Regions from separate parts of the Homo sapiens genome. Here region 2 is linked to region 1. Evidence: promoter capture Hi-C in 16 types of primary human blood cells and fetal thymus (Javierre and others, 2016). All regions are on one chromosome and are shown on one strand. Each heading gives the region's core, a stretch centred on a gene start or on the middle of the fragment in contact. The rest is flanking DNA. Distances are from core to core; before and after follow the strand shown.

The links. The method cuts DNA at HindIII sites, captures the fragments that hold promoters and counts their contacts. A CHiCAGO score of 5 or more calls a contact.
Region 2: a fragment that was not itself captured here is called in contact with the fragment with the promoter of SLC4A11 in region 1 in 1 of 17 cell types (naive CD4 T cells); the score reaches 6.1 in naive CD4 T cells.

What each region holds. Positions count from the first base shown.
Region 1 is chr20:3,235,152-3,240,639 of GRCh38, forward strand. SLC4A11 (solute carrier family 4 member 11) reads right to left here and starts at 4,039. Exons shown (of 20, transcript NM_001174089.2): 1 at 3,944-4,039; 2 at 2,393-2,437. The coding sequence starts at 3,986. RefSeq lists silencers at 3,849-4,028, 4,129-4,288. The HindIII fragment of the contact is 32,660 bases long and covers 1-5,488 here.
Region 2 is chr20:3,058,330-3,063,621 of GRCh38, forward strand. No RefSeq gene overlaps it. Among named protein-coding and RNA genes, the nearest start is that of OXT, 11 kb to the right of the region's middle. RefSeq lists enhancers at 786-1,287, 1,288-1,787. The HindIII fragment of the contact is 3,419 bases long and covers 181-3,599 here.

The DNA of each region.
Region 1 (5,488 bases), core at 2,789-5,288:
TGAGAAAAACATGTCCACTCCAGACACATTGGGGCAGGCACGGAGTGCAATAATGCAGATGAGACTGCCTGGCCCCTGCCCTCCCAAAGTAGGGAACACAGGGAAGGCAGAGAAGCTGCAGTATCCACGTCTCTCTCTCTCTCTCTCTCTCTCTCTCTCACACACACACACACACACACACACACACACACACACACACACACGCTGCCTTGTGGGCACAGGGTCTTAGAGCTCCGCCTCCCCAGGAGGGCAGGTGGGGAGAAGCATCGAGGCTGAGAGACCCAGGACAGGTATCAGACAAGGTCTAGGGAGCAGGAAAACCAGGGAAACAGAGCCAGGGGCTGACAGGGGAGAGGACCCCAAGGCCTCATGTCAGCCCTGCCCCCATCGTGCTCCTCTTCATGTTCTGGGGGCCCTGGGTAAGGGCACATGGAGAGTGAGGGTGTGTAATGGCACCTGTGGGATGTGGGACCCCAGAGGTGAGAGCCTGCTCCCCTTGGTCCTCAATTCCTGCAGCTGGCCAGCAGCACACCCCTCTTCCTACAGGAAGATTTCCTGGTAACATGCAAATATTCCTCTGCCCTGAGCCCTGCAGTGGCTCCCTGCAGCCTACAGATCACAGCCTGAGCCAGCCCTGCTCCCCCTGCCCTGACCACTGGCTCCTCAGGCCATCCGGTCAGCACCCTAGGCATGCAAGGTCCTGTCCTCCAAGCTGAGGGCTTCCCTCCCTGGAGGGCCTTTTTCAAGACTCACTTGGAACCTCCTCCTCCAGGAAGTCCTCCTAGATCCCTGCCTCACCCCTGGCCACTGGCAGCCCTTCCTGTCTTGTGGGTCCCCTAAGGTTCCTCACTTGTAGGTACTCCCAGGAAAGGGGCCCTTATAGCCCAGACCCCACTGATGCCTGACAGACACCTGTGCAGAAACAAGGATGGGTCAGCAGCACGCCTGCACCTGCCAGGGAGTGACTCACCCTGACTCACTTCTACTCCCGCCGCCAGTTTCCTTGGCACATCCCAGGCCCTGTTCCCCCAGTGTCCTGAGTTTAGCCTGGGCCCCTTCTGGGTAGGAAGCCCTAGTGCCTCCTGCATCAAAGTCCCCAGGGACTGGTGACTCCCAGGCCCAGGCCTGCACTACCTCCAGAGCCCAGAGAAGAAATATTAGGTCAAAAGACATCCTTGCCTTTGGGAGGCCAAGGCAGGCGGATCACGAGGTCAGGAGATCGAGACCATCCTGGCTAACAATGGCTAACATGGTGAAACCCTGTCTCTACTAAAAATACAAAAAGAAATTAGCCGGGTGTGGTGGCGGGCGCCTGTAGTCCCAGCTACTCGGGAGGCTGAGGCAGGAGGCTGGTGTGAACCCAGGAGGCAGAGCTTGCAGTGAGCCGAGATCACACCACTGCACTCCAGCCTGGGCGACAGAGCGAGACTCAAAACAAAACAAAACAAAACAAAACAAAACAAAAGACGTCCTCACTGCTTTGGTTCTGGAGCTCATGATAAACTCCTTCCTCCCCGGGTCAGGCTTGCCTTGTTTAAACTGTCTGGTTCCCCTGGCCCGAACTTGTCCCAGCCTCCCCTCTGCCCCTCAACCAGCACCCACTAGTCCCCTCCACTGCCCTTCACACAGCCCCGTTCTTCCCCCATTCTTCCCCTGATGCCCTCAGCTCTACCTTAGACTTAGTGCTCAGGTCCCCTAGATTAAGGACCTGCCCAGCTGACACTACCAGGTTCCTGGGGGGCTCCTGCAATGCCAAGTCCTAGTCCCAGCCCCATACGTAACCTGCCCACCAGCAGCCTAGCACACAGAGCCCCATGTCCTGAGGGCTCTGGGTAAGGGAACATCAGCCCTGTGTCTACGCACTGCTCTACAAACAACCCTCGAATGGTCAGGTCACTCATGGGGCTAGGCACAGGACACAGCCTGAAGCCAGCCCAGAGACATGAGGAGGAAGACAGCTGGACTGGTACAAGCAGGGACAGCAGGAAGGTGCCCGAGGGACTGCAGCACAGAGGCCTTATATTTCTTTAAAGAGACAACGACAGATATTCCCTCCAGGGCTGGGTGAGGACAGAGGGACAGGGGCACACAGAATTCTTGGCCCAAGGCTAGTCAGATAACAGGCCATTGTCACAGAAAACCTTGGGTAAGAATCCCAGAGGGTTCACCTGGTCCAAGTAGCCCAGGAGAATGGGCAGCCTGCCCTCTCAGGTCCACGGGGGATCCGCCCATGTCTAGCTTCCCGAAGAGTGGAAGCCAAAAGCATTCCAGCACTAGAGTGGCCCAGATAGGCGAGCAAAGCCACAGGACTCTGGTGGGTAGGCTATGCACCCTGGAGGCTTTTGCCCGACAAGCTCTCTCTGCACACACACACTCCCCGAGAGGTACTCACTTGAATCCTCGAAGTATCCATTCTGCGACATGGTGGGAGAGTTTTCTGCAAGGGAAGCAGAAAGGTCACCAGCCCCATGGACCAAGCCCTGGACCTCCTGTGTGCACCTGTCTCCCCGCCCCCCGACCTGGCTCATTCCTTCGCTCTTCCGAGGGATGCAACCCACGCCACCCTAGGGAGAAAGGGAAGCAGGGGACAGTGCTCGGGAGGGGGCCCCATAGCAGGGGAAGCCAGCCTTAATCTCAGAAATTCAATTGCTTAGCCCATCTGCTAGGGGCTGCCCAGGCGGGCCAGAGGCGAGGAGGAGAGACGTTCCAGGGATGTCTTCCCACCGAGTTAGTACCAGTACCATGTTCGCTAATCCAGGTTTTCCTGAGAAAACCCTGCCCCGCTGCAGCGAGAGGAAGGGACCGGGCCCGAGCGGGCCTCTCCCCCTCTCTCCTCGGATGCCAAGGCGGGGGATCTCTCTGCACATCCCTCTTCTCACTCTCAGACCGGTCCTGGGGGCCATAAACGCCCATTGCAGGCGCAGTTCCCCCGACCCCCGTCACGCGCCCCGGGTCACACGGGGGCCGACAGGCAACGGTCTCCAGTCCTGGGACCGCGTCCCGGCCGCCTGGAAGCCAGAGCCGTTGGTCCAAAAGGGAGAACAATTGGGGGTGGGAGGAGTATCTGAGGGACACATGGGTCGGGGGAGGCTGCGCCCTCCCTGGGCCGGTCCCCGGATGGTCCCGGCTGTTTGTGCCTCGCTGTCGGAGGAAGGAAGCGACAGGAGGGGCCGCGTGCACGAGAGGAAAGCGCCTCCAGACTCGGAGACCCCGGGGGTCGGGGCGCAGGATGTGAATGCAGGCGCGGGGCGGGAGCCGGGGCTGCATCCTGAAGTGGGGGGCGGGGGCGCTGGGGCGCGTCCCAGGCCGTGGGCGACGAGGGTCTGGGAGGGTTGGGCCGGTGCACACTCCGCTTCCGTCCCGGCGGCCCACGTGCAGGTAAAGGGTCGTACAAACCTGGGTCCTGGCGGGGACCCAGGGCTGGCCCTCCCGTGTCAGAGCAAGGGAGAAACCGCTGCGGCCGCGCAGGGCACGGTCAGGGGTCCCGGGACTCCCAAAACTCCAGGGGTTCCGGGGCTCCCACCGCGGCGCCGGACGGGAAGATGCCCGGGCGGAAGGTAAAATGAGACCTTCCGAGGCGGCGGCCCGCCAGGCTCCCAAAAGCTCGGCGCTCGGGGCGCTGGGAGCCCCACAGCTCCGCCCTGCCCACTTTCGAGCTCCCCGCCCTCGACCCGCTGCATCAGCTGTTCAAACCTGGTAAGAAATTCAAGACGGCGACAGCAGAGCCCTAATGAAACCAAGCGCGCGGTGGCCGCGAAGCCGCGCCCGGGCCTCCCGCACCCGCGCCCTCCTCCCCGCGGCTGGGAATCCCGCAGCCCTCTCGCCCACCGGCCCCGGCCCGCGCAGGCAGACGGCATCCGCGTTCTCCCCGGGGTCCCCGACGGGAGACGGTGGCGGAGACCCGGGCGGCCTTCCCGCCGCGCCCCCGGGTTCAGGCACCCACCGCACGGCTGCAGATGGAACACGCGCCTGGTGGCCGCGGCCATGGCACACTCGCGCACTCACGGCCGGGCTCCTCACGCGGCGCTCCGGCGCTTCTGGACCCCAAACTCGGCGACTCGGGCGGGCCGGCGGCGGGAGCCGGCGACACACCCCCACGCCGCGCCTGGGTCCTAATGCCGCTCAGACGCCGCGCCCGGGCGCGGTAGGCAGAGCTGCCGAGGGCTGGGACCCGGCCGCCCGCCCCGCGCCCTCACCCGCGGGAGGCTGCTCCAGCCGGGCTGGGCTGCTCCCCGCCGCCCGCAGCTGCTGGGCCAAACCGAGTAGACCCGGCTCCTTCGAGCCTGTGCGCGCCGGACCCAGCAGACCCAGCGTCGCGAGTTTAGGGGCTGGACGGGGCCGGGGAGCTTCTGGGAAAACGTTCGACTGCGCCACGAGCCCACCGAGCTGTGCGACTGAGGCAGACCCCGGGAGGGCTTCCCCCGCGTCCGCTTTAAGTACGCGGCCGGCCCCTGTCTCCTCCTTTCGACCGGGGACCTCCGCAGGGCCACGCCCGCTGGCTGCCCCGCCTCCTGCATTTATCCCGGTAGCTCCGGCCGCAAGTCCTTCTCCTCCTCCTCCAGGAAGCGCGCCCCGACTGACTAGACGGACCTCCGTGCATTCCCCGGGCTACGCCCTCGCCCGCTGAGACGGCGCTCTCCGAGCTCGGCTGCTTTGGGTTTTCGCTGCGAGCCTCGCCAACTTATCTGCCAGCCTCTTCACGTCCTCGGCCTTCTATGAGGTCAAGGTCATGGTTCGCCCCCTTTTTCCTTCCCCAAATGGCCCTTGCGCCCTGTCCCCTTTCCTGGACCGGCTGCGACCCGCCCGGGGACGCGCCTTTTCGGGGCGCTTAGTCTCCTGCGAGTAGGGCGTGTGCGCGTGTGGGTGCGCGTGCTGCGATGCGATCCGGCAAATGCAGCTGACGAACCCCTGGCCTGATCCACGGTGGCTCCCAGTAGAAGGCTCTACAGCCCTTGGAAACGGAACACGCAGCTCCGTAAAGCGCTAACCAACCTCCCGACCCCTCCGGCCGCCATCGCTTTCCGGCTCAGCCGCGCTGGGACGGAGTCCTCGGCCACTGTGCCCTAACCATGGTAGAGGAACGGGGACAGGCCGGGGCAAGCCCACCTCTGCGAAGGAAGGGCTTCTGGCGCGTTGGGGAAGCCTCATGCATAGATTGGGTGAGTAAGGCTGGCCCAGTTCTCCTCCCGGCAAGATAAGAACGCATTAGGAGGGAAGCGCTGGAGTGCTCCTCTTGGCGACGGATGGCCTGGGGCTCTGCGACAGACTGAGTACCCCACCCTCCCCCAGCGCGACTCCAGGAGGCCTTGTGGAAGATCCCAACACCATGACCTGCAACTGACTTGGGGCTGGCCACATAGTATTTTAGCAGGGGTGACTCTGGAGAGACACCAGGTCATCCTGCGCACCCCTTGGGACCTTTCCTAGACGCCCTCCAGCTAGAGCTCCAGTCCAGGCACTGACTCCCGGGTGGCGGGTGGAGGCTGAG
Region 2 (5,292 bases), core at 640-3,139, 180 kb before region 1:
CTCGTCAGGACTAGAAGTGCTGCCAGCTTTGAGGGGCATTTAGGGCAAGAGAAGACAGCTTAAGAGATCCAGTTGCAAGGCAGGCCACTCTGTACTTTGGGCCTTATGATCCAGTAGATCCAGTAGAACTGGTACTCAAGATGTCCACAGTTAACCAGAATGCTATGTGGACCTGTAGTAAGCTTCAGTGGATACTCACATCAGAAGTCCCTTGGGTTTGTTTTTTGTTTTTTGTTGTTGTTGTTTGTTTGTTTTCCTTTTTTATGTTGAGACGGAGTATCATTCTGTCACCCAGGCTGGAGTGCAGTGGAGTGATCTCGGCTCACTGCAACCTCCGCCTCCCAGGCTCAAGCAATTCTCCTGCCTCAGCCTCCTGAGTAGATGGAACTACAGGTGTGCACCACCACACCTGGCTAATTTTTGTATTTTTAGTAGAGAGGGGTTTCACCATGTTGGCCAGGCTAGTCTCGAACTCCTGACCTCAGGTGATCCTCCCACCTCGGCCTCCCAAAGTGCTGGGATTACAAGTGTGAGAAAATATATACTTTTTTTGTTTGTTTGTTTGTTTGAGACAGAGTTTTGCTCTTGTCACCCAGACTGGAGTGCAGTGACATGATCTCGGCTCACTGCAACCTCCATCTCCTAGGTTCAAGCAATTCTCCTGCCTCAGCCTCCCAAGTAGCTGGGATTACAGACGCCCACCACCATGCCCAGCTAATTTTTGTATTTTTAGTGGAGGGTTTCAACATGTTGGCCAGGCTAGTCTTGAACTCCTGGCCTCAAGTGATCCGCCCACCTTGGCCTCTCAAAGTGCTGGGATTACAGGCGTGGGCCACCGTGCCCGGCTGAGTATACTCTATTTTTATTTGTCAATTATACCTCAATAAAGCTGGGGGAAAAAAACTGAAAAAATACTGGTCATGAATTATTTTTCTTTGGTGGGGCTACCATTCTCTCCCACTCCACTGGCTGTGTGGAAATAGCCCACACATCGGTTGCAGGTGCAGAGGACATCTGAGGACAGGCTCGCCCTGCCCACCACCATTGCCACTGGTGCCCGAGCATGCCTTCCAGGGCCTGGGGATCAATCCATCCTATCTGCCACTGCCAGTGCCCATGCACACCATCTGGGGGGCTGAAAACAGGCCTGCCCTGCCCTTCACCACCACCATTGCTGCCAGCACCTGTGCACATCATCCAGGGGCCTGAGATTCAATCTGCCCAGCCCACCACCATCACCACCCGTGTGCACCATCCAGGGGCCTAAGGGTCCCACCCTACCTACTGATGTCAATGCTAGTACCCATGCATGTCATCCAGGGGTCTGGGGGTTGACCTGCACTGTCAGCACACATGCACGCCTTCCAGGGACCTGAGGATGGGCTCACCCCACCTACTGCTGCCGTCCATGTGTACTGTCCAGAGACCTAGGGATTGATCCACCCACTTCACTGCCACTGGTGTGCATGCCACACATGCACACTGTCCAGGAGCCCAAGGACAGGTCCACCTTGCCTACCACTGATTCCTGTGTGCATCTCCCAGAGGCCCAGGCACTGGCCCACCCAGCCTGCTGCTGCCAGTCAGTACCAGCACGCCACCCAGGGGCCTGGGGACTGGCCCAAACAGATTGCTGTTACCACCACCCTGTCCAAAAAAAAAAAAGACCCAATTGTATGCTGCCTATCAGAAATTCACTTCACCCGTAAAGACACACATAGACTGAAAATGAATAGATGAAAAAAAAATTCCATGCAATTCCATAAAATTGGGGAAAAAATGACTGTTATAAGTGACTGATATCCTGCATGCTTTTATTTATTTATTTATTTATTTTTTGAGACGGAGTTTCGTTCTTGTTGCCCAAGCTGGAGTGCAATGGTGCGATCTTGGCTTACTGCAACCTCTGCCTCCTGGGATTACAGGCACCCGCCACCACACCCAGCTAATTTTTGTATTTTTAGTAGAGACGGGGTTTCACCATGTTGGCCAGGCTGTACTTGAACTCCTGACCTCAGGTGATCTGCCTGCCTCTGCCTCCCAAAGTGCTGGGATTACAGGTGTGAGCCACCACACCGGCCTTGCATGCTTTCAGTTTCCAATCATTTGGAAGCCAAAATTATTGGAACAGTCATTAATAGCCTACTATATAACAACAAATGCCTACATCAAAAAAAGTAGGAAGACTTCAAGTAAACAACCTCATGATGCTCCTCAAGGAGCTAGAAAAGCAAGAATAAACCAAACCCAAAGGAAAGAAACATAAAGATCAGAGCAGAACTAAACAGAATAGAGACTAAAAAAGGGAAACAAAGGGTCAATGAAATAAAAACTTGTTTTTTAAAAAATATAAACAAAATCCACAAACCTGTGCTTGGTGTGTGAGAAAAAAAAAAAAAAAATCAATAAGCCACTACCAGGACTAACCTAGAAAAAAAGAGAGAAGACCCAAATAAAATTAGAAATGAGAAAGGAGACATACAACTGATATCACAGAAATACAAGGGATCATTAGAAACTATTATGAACAACTATACACTAACAAATTGGAAACCCTAGAGGATATCTATGAATTCCTGGACACAAACAACCTACCAAGATTGAACCAGGAAAAAAATAGAAAACCTGAAGAGATCAATGATGAGTAACCACATTGAATCAATAATTAAAAGTCTCTCAACAGAGAAAAGCTCAGGACCAGATGGCTTTACTGTGGAATTCTACCAATTTATAAAGAACTAACACCCATTCTTCTCAAACTATTCCTAAAAATTGAAGAGAATTTTTTTCTAACTCATTCTATGAGGCCAGCGTTACCCAGACACCAAAACCAGACTAGGACACACACAACAACAAAAGAAAACTACAGGCCAATATACCTGATAAACATAGATGCAAAAATCCTCAACAAAATACAGTTGATCCTTGAAGAATGTGGAGGCTATGGATGCCAAAACCCTGCACACTAGAAAATTCACATATAACGTTTGACCCCCCCAAAACTTAATTACTAATAATTAAGTGAAAGGCCTTTACAATGAAAACTATAAGACACTGATAAAAAAAAATTGAAGTCCGGGCGCCGTGGCTCACACCTGTAATCCCAGCACTTTGGGAGGCTGAGGCGGGTGGATCACAAGGTCAGAAGTTCGAGACCAGCCTGGCCAAGATGGTGAAACCCCATCTCTACTAAAATAAATAAAAAATTAGCCGGGCGTGGTGGCAGGCGCCTGTAGTCCCAGCTACTCCGGAGGCTGAGGCAGGAGAATTCCTTGAACCTGGGAGGCGGAGGTTGCAGTGAGCCGAGATCGTGCCACTGCACTCTAGCCTGGGCGACAGAGCAAGACTCCATCTCAAAAAAAAAAAAAAAAAGAAAAAAAATTGAAAAGGATACAAACAAATGGAAAGGCATCCCATGCTCATGGATTGGAAGAGTATTGTTAAATGACTGTACTACTCAAAGCAATCCACAGATTCAGTGCAATCCCTATCAAAATACCAATGACATTCTTCACAGAAATAGAAAAAACAATCTGAAAATTTGTATGGAACCACAAAAGATACTTAATAGCCAAAGCAATAATGAGCAAAAAGAACAAAGCTTAGAGGTACCACACCACCTGACTTCAAAATTTACTACAAAGGTGTAGTAATCAAAACAGCAGGCTATTGGTATAAAAATAGACACAGACCAATAGAACAGACTGGAGAATCCAGAAATAAATCCATGTGTTTACAGTCAACTGATTTTTGACAAAGGCATCATGAACAAACACTGGGGAAAGAACATCCTCTTTAATAAATGATGCTGGGAAAACAGGATATCCATAGGTAGAAGAATAAAACTAGACCCCTATCTCTCACAATGTACAAAACTCAACTCAAAATGGCTTAAAGACAAACATAAGACCTGAAACTATAAATCTACTAGAAGAAAACATAGGGAAAACACTTCAGGACGTTGGTCCAGGTAAAGATTTTATGGCTAAGACTTCAAAAGCACAGTCAACAACAACAACAACAACAAAATAGACAAATGGGAATACAGTCAACTAAAAAGCTTCTGAACAGCAAAGGAAGCAATCAACAGAAACAACCTGTAGAACAGGAGGAAATCTTTACAAACCATTCATCTGACAAGGGGCTAATATTCAGAATATACAAGGAATTCAAACAACTCAGCAGCAAAAACATAAACAATCCCAGTAAAAAGTGGGCAAAGGGCTGGGCGCGGTGGCTCACGCCTGTAATCCCAGCACTTTGGGAGGCCGAGGTGGGCGGATCATAAGGTCAGGAATTTGAGACCAGCCTGGCCAATAGGGTGAAACCCCGTCTCTACTAAAAATACAAAAAATTAGCCGGGCCTGGTGGTGTGCGCTTGTAATCCCAGCTACTCGGGAGGCTGAGGCAGGAGAATTGCTTGAACCTGGGAGGCAGAGGTTGCAGTGAGCCAAGATCATGCCTTTGCACTCCAGCCTGGGTGACAAAGCGAGACTGTCTCAAAAAAAAAAAAAAAAAAAAAAAAGTGGCCAAAGGATCTGAATAGATATCTCAAAAGAAGACACGCATGCTTGAGCCTAGAAGTTGGAGGTTATAGTGAGCTATGATCGTGCCACTGTACTCCAGCCTGGGCAACAAAGTGAGACTCTGTCTCTAAAAAATAAAATAAAAGGCCGGGCACAGTGGCTCACACCTATAATCCCAGCACTTTGGGAGGCCAAGGCGGGCAGATCACAAGATCAGGAGATGGAGACCATCCTGGCTAACACGGTGAAACCCCATCTCTACTAAAAAATACAAAAAAAATTAGCCAGTCGTGGTGGCAGGCGTCTGTAGTCCCAGCTACTCAGGAGGCTGGGGCAGGAGAATGGCGTGAACCCGGGAGGCGGAGCTTGCAGTGAGCCAAGATTGGGCCACTGCACTCCAGCCTGGGTGACAGAGCGAGACTCCATCTCAAAAAATAAATAAATAAATACCCTGCCCGGCCGCCGCCCCGTCTGGGAGGTGTACCCAACAGCTCATTGAGAACGGGCCATGATGACGATGGCGGTTTTGTCGAATAGAAAAGGGGGAAATGTGGGGAAAAGAAAGAGAGATCAGATTGTTACTGTGTCTGTGTAGAAAGAAGTAGACATAGGAGACTCCATTTTGTTCTGTACTAAGACAAATTCTTCTGCCTTGGGATGCTGTTAATCTATAACCTTACCCCCAACCCCGTGCTCTCTGAAACATGTGCTGTGTCCACTCAGGGTTGAATGGATTAAGGGCGGTGCAAGATGTGCTTTGTTAAAC